3 separate regions of the Homo sapiens genome follow, and all the other regions are linked to region 1. The links are contacts of gene promoters, found by promoter capture Hi-C in human tissues and cell types (Jung and others, 2019). All regions are on one chromosome and are shown on one strand. The core of a region is centred on a gene start or on the middle of the fragment in contact, and the rest is flanking DNA. Distances in the headings are between cores, read along the strand shown.

Evidence for each region. Contacts are between HindIII fragments. The study calls those that stand out against the background at their distance.
Region 2: a fragment that was not itself captured here is called in contact with the fragment with the promoter of CSMD3 in region 1 in 1 of the 25 tissues and cell types used here (dorsolateral prefrontal cortex).
Region 3: a fragment that was not itself captured here is called in contact with the fragment with the promoter of CSMD3 in region 1 in 1 of the 25 tissues and cell types used here (dorsolateral prefrontal cortex).

What each region holds. Positions count from the first base shown.
Region 1 is chr8:113,435,527-113,438,226 of GRCh38, reverse strand. It overlaps CSMD3 (CUB and Sushi multiple domains 3), which reads left to right and starts at 1,288. Exons shown (of 71, transcript NM_198123.2): 1 at 1,288-1,550. The coding sequence starts at 1,373. RefSeq lists enhancers at 1-354, 367-416, 2,194-2,700. The HindIII fragment of the contact is 9,532 bases long and covers 1-2,700 here.
Region 2 is chr8:112,424,281-112,426,980 of GRCh38, reverse strand. All of the region lies in intron 32 of CSMD3 (CUB and Sushi multiple domains 3), which reads left to right. Among named protein-coding and RNA genes, the nearest start is that of MIR2053, 220 kb to the left of the region's middle. The HindIII fragment of the contact is 4,996 bases long and covers 1-2,700 here.
Region 3 is chr8:111,450,191-111,452,890 of GRCh38, reverse strand. The region is part of intron 2 of LINC02237 (long intergenic non-protein coding RNA 2237); the gene reads right to left. Among named protein-coding and RNA genes, the nearest start is that of LINC02237, 75 kb to the right of the region's middle. The HindIII fragment of the contact is 3,906 bases long and covers 1-2,700 here.

The DNA.
Region 1 (2,700 bases), core at 39-2,538:
TGGGCAGTCCTCTAGACTAAGCCTTGTTGATAGACGCTCACGCCCATGATAGCCTGAGGCAGTTAAATGGAGCCACACGCAACAGCAATATCCTGTTTCAGAACTAGCGCTGTGGCACTCCCCACTGCTGAGAGGGGACCAGATTCCCGAAAAGGTCAGATCACCAATCAGTTGCCTAATCTAAGGAACTTGTTCATTGAAAGATTTGGGCCAGGACCGTGGTCGAAAAAAATCAAGGAGCACGACATACTGGTCCCGGGGACACAGCTCCCCTGACACCAAGGGATGGCAAAAACAGGGTCCCTTATACATGCGAAGGAAGAACGGGCGGCTCGGAGACGGCCAGTAGATGGCGCAAGAACTCTTCCCTTGTGCAATCTTAACCCTTGCGTGGTGCATGGGGGAAGCAGATCCAGATGTATAGATACATACATTTTTCGTTTTGAAAGAAACCTCCTATTTACATATTTGGTACCGATTCAGAATTAAGACAAATGGGTTTGTTCTAGATAACTACCACAGATAAAGTAGTTTAACTGCGGCACACACAAACTGAAAAGGGGGTTGGGAGGATGAAAGGGAGAACTATTTGAGGAAACGACATTGACTTCCCTCCCCACCCCACCCCCGCCCAGGCCACGGATGAAATCCGTTTCCCGAATCATAAAAACCCGGTGAAGGGTTTACACGTAGTTATTTGAGTATGTAAATACATGTGTTCAAATACATTCTTTTCCGTGTGAAGGCAGAATTTATTGAGAAAATTCTCTGTGATTTCCTTTTTCAATTAAATCACAGGATAATAAATGGGAGAAGCCTGCCTGAAATATACTGCAACTACAGTAGTAACACATGTCCCATTATAACGACGTGGGCATCGATGGAGCCCGATTCATTATCGTCACGGTTTCCCCAAAAGCAACACAGATCCTCCGATTAAAATATTCCTTTGACATGCTTCTGTATTCGCAGCCTGCAACGGAGAGCTCACTAACATTATTTCTTGGGCTGCTTTTACAGGCAGAATTGATCTATTCGGGGAAAAAAAGCAAGCCCCTTAATTTCAAATATTGTGTGGAGTTTATCAGAGAGCAGAGGTGGGCTTTAAGAGGCTCACTAGTGGTTTCTGGTGGTTGCTATAACGAGCCAGAATTGGGGTAGATTTTGGTGGAGGGGAAAAAACGCACAAGAAAAGACAGAATCCAGAGTAGCGGAGACTTTGTGCCCCCGTTGGAGAGATGGTTGAGTCCTCGTCAAGGTTGCTGTGGTATCCCAGAAACACCATTCACTCCGAGCTGTGACCGCGCACCAACAACAGCAACAACTCCACTGCGCCGGGCTGAGGAGCAGGAATTAGGAGCTCGCGAATAATATGAAAGGGATCCGCAAAGGGGAAAGCCGAGCAAAGGAATCCAAACCCTGGGAGCCTGGCAAGCGAAGATGCGCTAAATGTGGCCGCCTAGACTTCATCCTGATGAAGAAAATGGGGATTAAAAGTGGATTTACGTTTTGGAACCTCGTCTTTTTATTGACGGTGTCTTGTGTGAAAGGTAGGTCTGCTTTGGGGGTCCCCTCCGCTTTGGATGGAGGTGGGCTGACTTGTAGATGGAGAGAGGCTGGCAGCTTACTTTGCAATTTGCACCGATAAAATAATCTGATAATACTAAAGGAGTTGATTCACAGCTCGTTCTCCCCCCCTCAGATAGGAAATGCATTTTGCTTGCCAGATTTGGCGTTCAATGCGGTGATTGAGCTTGTGCTCAATAAATATTCTTGCAGTATGCTCAAACGAATACGTGAGTTGGTTAGTATAGCCTCTAACTAGTGGATATCCAGGCAGAATTCCTCTGCAAGACTTTTCTTAGTGGTGAGGATTACCTTGATTTCTTGTCAGATCACTAGGGCTTGAGGCTTTGGGTGGAATATATATATTAAAGACGCTGGTCTAAATGCTTTTTAACCCTTTCAGGGAAGAAAGTTATCGACGTGCTAGGAATGTGTTGATTTTAAATGCATTAGGGCACAGGGATCTTCCAAGCACTGCCACATCAACATGAATGTCTGCATGCATATGTATGTAAATTGGGCTTCTATGCAATGTTAAATGTAGGGGAGCTTCCCTAGGACCTGTGGTAGAGGTTTGGCAAAAAATGAGGCTTTCGAAGGGTCTGAAATGCCATGAAGTGTAAAGAACCACCTTAAGGGATGAATGAGGTAGGAGGAAAGTCATTAGCTGACGACCAAAAGAAAATCCCCAGCAAGTCTCAGCGTTCAGACAGGTAGAGTGAGTGTCACATGCACAGATAGGGGAGGGGGTAGGTGGGATGTAAAAATGTATTCCCAAGCAGGAAGGCAAGGGACAGTCAGGATCATGGGAAAAAGAGCTGTCCTTAGGGAGAAAATAGATCCATAGCTCTCTTCCACAACTTCTCCGGCACCCTGCTGCCCATTAATTGCTGCAAAGAATACTCAGGAGGTGTTTATGACTCATGCCATCATTTTTTGAACAATCACCTCTCCATACTCATGGCAGCTCGAATAGACGCTATGGATGCCGCTTTCAGTGAAGCTAGTTTCAAATCCCGGGTGTCTGTGTGTCGCGGGGGGGCGGGGGATCGCGGGAAAGGGGGTGCTGTTTTGGCCCAGGCGCGCCAGGGCTGTCAACACAAACTGGACGCTTCTTCCTTTGTAAAGGAGTGC
Region 2 (2,700 bases), core at 42-2,541, 1.0 Mb after region 1:
CAAATAAAATGAAAAAGGAGAGCCATGCTGACACAATACTTTTGAACACCTGGTATTTGAAATGATTGCAAGGTATCACGATTACCTGAAAAGAGTGAAAACATTGTCTTAGCATTTCTGATTTTATTTTTTGTACATAATTGGAGTTTCCACATTCATTGCACAAAGGTGTTGTTAGTGCCAGGGAAGTAGTTACTGGAATACACGAATAATCTAAAGTAGTGAAGGAAAAATATATGTAAGTCAGAATTTCAAAATAGTGCAATAATTTATATGACCAGAATAAGCAGTGCATACAATGGAAAAGTATTTGAGCAAACCTTAATCAGATAAATTCTGAGGTAATGATAGTATCTGGTGATAGCTCACCAGAGCTGAGTCTTCAAAGATGAATAGACATTAGCTAAGAAGATCAGATAGTCTAGCATAAGCAAAGTCAGAGAAGTGGGAGAAAAATCACAATTAGGAGATGCTCTTGGGGGTATCAATCTGTGAAGTCTGGCTTCATGGGTTTCAGGAAGAAGAGTCACAGAGTGGCCAGGCATTCCTTACCAAATGGAATAATTCAGTTGTTTCAGCTTTTCTTACTTAACAGTAAAATAATTAAACATGACTATGTTTATATTTAGTTGCTTTGATGAAATGAATTGTTTCCAAAAAATATAGAAGGTTCACAATCAATACCAACTACCTATTAAAATGTGCTTAAAAAAAAGTTTTCACCCTCACTCCCCACCCCCTGCACACACACTCAAATTCACCAATGGAATTTTATCTTATTTTATTTGTTGTCCTTGACACACTAGAATTAAGCTAAACAATCATTTTCAGAGTAAAGTTTTAATGATTTGAAACTATTGCAGCTCACTTTTTTTATGTCTCCAGCTCCATTTTACTATGTATTTGTGCATTCAGACAGTATATGATGGAACAGTAATTGTAAGACAAAGAAATAGAACTTGACTTATTTCAGTGATGGAATTCTATGTAACCACTTGTATTTTTTGTTTCTGCTTAAAATTTAGAAGACTAAAATAGAGTCCAAACTTCAGTGTGTGTTTCTTCCCATTAAAAAAATACACTTATGTAACGAATGTATGACTTCATCTTTTTTTTGGTACTTTAATATTTGTTTTCTTATTTTGAGATTTTTTTACTACTATTTTAACACACACACAGAGTTTAATAATAGAAAATTTTCACAGTCTATATTTATTTTCTGGCCAGTATTATTAATTCATTTGTGATTATTCATGAAAATAGTTTTACCACAGTGGGGAATGTTAAAAAATTATCTAATCTGACTGTCAATATGCTTGGTATGGAATTGTTTATAACAGTGCTTGAAAGTGAGTAGCTATTAATTCAAGAGGCACTGGATATGAATGTTAGCAGCATAAGTCTCCCTTGGGGTAGCTGGGGGCCTGTTTCCTCATCCTCAAAATATGCATAAGAATACCTACTACTCAAGTTATTACAAGTAAAATCTGAGACAATACAGATTAAACTCCTCACAGATAAGTGAGTACAGCAAATATAGCCATGCAAGAAAGACAATAGGCTTCCTTTAGATTTGTTCTTAAGACTCCTTCTCACCCTCCACTGACTTTGAGTTGCTGAATCTATAAATTAAGTCCAAATTAACATGAAAAAAATTGGGGTTCACAATTTGAAGTCAGAATATTTACCATTTAAAATTAGAATATAACCTTCTAGATATCTTTCAAAACATTAGTTAGCCACATGACTCTTTCACAAAGCTTTTCAGGATGTCTTATCTATTTTGGAATATCATAGTATGTAAAATAAATGATAATGATCCTATTTACATGAGGCTTTTTGATTAATGGTTATTACTAGTTGGGTTCCAGCATCATTTAACTGTAAAGAATTTTTAACAACTAACAACTGAGAAGTAAAATGTAGTTACTTATTCAGAATAACTGATATTTAAGAAACATTTAAACAACATTCTTACTAAATAAAAAATAGGTCAAGCGCGGTGGCTCATGCCTGTAATCCCAGCACTTTGAGAGGCTGAGGTGGGCAGACCGCAAGGTCGAGAGATAGAGACCCTCCTGGCCAACATGGTGAAACCCCGTCTCTACTGAAAATACAAAAATTAGCTGGGCATTGTGGCACATGCCTGTGGTCCCAGCTACTCGGGAGGTTGAGGCAGGAGAACTGCTTGAACCTGGTAGGTGGAGGTTGCAGTGAGCCGAGATCACGCCACTGTACTCCAGCCTAGTGACAGAGTGAGACTCCGCCTCAAATAAATAAATAAATAAATAAGTAAGTAAAATAAAATAAAATAGAAGAATGGGAACATGAAAAGAAGAAAAAATGTTCTGATCCTAATTTGGATCAAGCTATGACATAGTTAGGGAAACTGAATAATTTTAGGGAATTACCTATCTTATTCTTGGTCTCTAGTGAGAGTCTTAACAAACCTTGAGAATAAGGTTTAATTCATTGTTTTAAAAAGATCCATTTGTGTTTTGAAGTGAGTTACCATGGCTTTGTAAACCATTGAAGACCAAAACATAATACAAAGTAAGTCACATGTGCAAATAATTTATGTTCTTTATAGTTTCTTTTACTGATAATGATAATGTGAGTCTGCTTTAAAATTAATTTTTAAATATTTGTTTAGAACTTACTATTAATTCTTCTTGCCTTTGGTATGGTAACTAGGAACCA
Region 3 (2,700 bases), core at 168-2,667, 2.0 Mb after region 1:
ATAATGCTAGCCAAAAGAGAAACACGTGCCACTTTTTGAACTGCATCCTCTCCTAAAATTTCACAACAAATGTCCTTAGCAGCAAGCAGGATTAGCTCTTTGCCAGCAGTAAAGACCTTCTTAGCTTTAGCAATGCAGTTAGCCCCTAAGAATGATGCTCTCAGTACAGACACATTTGATGAAGTGGTGGCCTTCATTGCTTCTGTTCTTCATGTTCACAACTTTTTTTTTCTTTTGAAAAACTCCTAAGTCTTGTCTTTTAATAGAGGGTGCTTGGTTTCCATGTGGTGAAGAAGTTTTGAGAGTTTAATGGCTTCATTAAATAACTGCTCATCACATATTATACAAAGCAGGTTTACAGAATATGAATCACCTTTTTCAATGAATCCACAATTTAAGTAGGACACTTGGTATTTTCTTTTAAATTCAGCTGTATTTTTGTTGTCAGCCGTAGAGTTTTCTGCTGTCTCATCATTGTGTCTTTTCCTCTTTTCAAAGAAACTCTCCAGTGACATTTGCTTTTACTCATTTTGGCTAGGGTTAGCTTGTGGGCTTACCCAAACTGTGGCTGAGACAAGTGCACAGTAAAGGAAAGAGGCATGAACAGAAGTGGTAAATAAAATAATGGGCAACCCATGCATGGACTAGAATAAGTGTCAGATTCTGACTTAAAGCCTGCCACCAGATGCAGCTGTACAATTGAAGTACATCAACTCAAGTGCCACTATAAAGCCAGCCACCAGATGCAGCTTAATTGTCATTTGCCATTCACTGATAGGGTTTTGATATGAATCTGCAAGCATTTGATTTGTATGTTCTCTGTGCAGTCAAACATCTCTGCTAATGTTAATCTGTATTTGTAGTCTCTCCCCAGTGCTAGCATTACGTCCTCAGCTCCACTTCACATCATCAGGCATTAGATTCTCATAAAGAGCATGCAACCCAGATCCCTCACATGTGCAGTCCACAATAGGATTTGCAGGCCTATGAGAATCTAATGACACAGCTGATCTGATAGGAGGCCGAACTCAGGTGGTAATGGTTGTGATGGGGAGTGGTTTTAAATACAGATGAAGCTTTGTTCGCATGCTGGCTACTTGCCTTCTACTGTGAGGCCCGTTTCCCAACAGGCTATGGACCAGTACTTGTCTGTGGCCGGGGGTTAGGGACCCCTGAAATACAGTATTTGACAAACTTACTGACTTAATAACATGACTTAAGTAAACAGTCTTCTACCTTGTTTAATGTATAAATATCTTCCAAGTATAAAAGCATGTGAGAAAATGCCTATTATTTAAATAGACAAGCAAAGGATAGCAACTATTTTGATAATGCCATGAATCTAATTTTTCTTCGAATGACTTCTCATCACAGACAATCCATTAAAATAGAAAGATAACAAAATTTAGAAACATATCTATGTCTTGCTCTGCACATACAAAGAACATCTGGCCATAGACCAGACAATTTAGCACTTTGACTTAGTGGTTAATTTTGATTCACTCTAAGGCCAGTCTTTACTAAATTTAAATAACAAAGTACATAAATAAATGCAAATGCAGTATTAAGCTATTCTTCATTAAAGAGAAAAGATACATGATCTATTACAAAACAACAATATGTAGATTACATTCAGAGTCTGCAGAGAACTGATCCCTCTAGATGTTCAGCATTTCCATAGCTTGTCAGAAGCCACGGATACTTTCATATAGACTCTGGTACCGTCTCTTAGAGCCCATTACTTTTTGAGAAAAGAAACTCTAACACTGAATTCTGTTTTTCAGTTTTCTCCTCTAAAGCCATCTCTTTTCTATAACTACGCCAGGGTCCTGCTGTTTCTCCTCAGCCTATACATGAAGTTGTCAATCATTCTGTTCCAACATATTACAATCTTTGAAGCTGTAGGTCAGGAATTTAAGATGAGAAAGAGCAGCTATTTGTTGGAGCCCTCAAAGCCGCTGCCAAATGTTTCTCTGTTCCTGTGTTTCTGAATTGAATTCCATTAATAGGTGTTGTTCTGCTTTATTTTCTTGGATATGTGTTGAACCCCACGAGGGGAATAAATTAGGGAAAAAAAGCATAATTTCAGGAGAAAAAAATTGCGCACTATGTCATTTATATCAATCAAATTAGGAAGTGTATAATAAAGCATCCATTTCTGGTTCTTGAGAGTTTGCCTCTCATTATGGTTAATTTTATTTGTCAACTTGACTGGGTCAGAGTTTCCAGATATTTGGTCAAACATTATTTTAGATAATTTCATGTTTTATGAAATGGGGATGGGTAGACTTCGAATAAAATAGTTTACCTTTCATAAGCAGTCTCATCTGATCAGTTGACAGCCTAGAAAAAAATGGACCTCCCTGAAAGAAAAGGGGTTTCTGCCAGCTGATTGCCTTTGAAATGCATGTCTTTTCTGGGTCTCCATCCTACTAGCCTACTCTACAGATTTTGGACTTGCCAAGCATCCACAATCACATAAGCCAACTTCTTAAAATCAATCTCTTTCTCTCTCTCTCTCTCTCTCTCTCTTTCTCTTGTGTGTGTATGTATGTGAGACAGAGACATTGATTGATTTTGAGAGATAGATTGATGTATATGTAGATACACTTCAGATGTATATACATTTTTAGAATTTCCTAAGTAATAACAGTGTCTTTTTTTTTGATGATGGAGTCCTCATTATGCTAATTAGGTGTT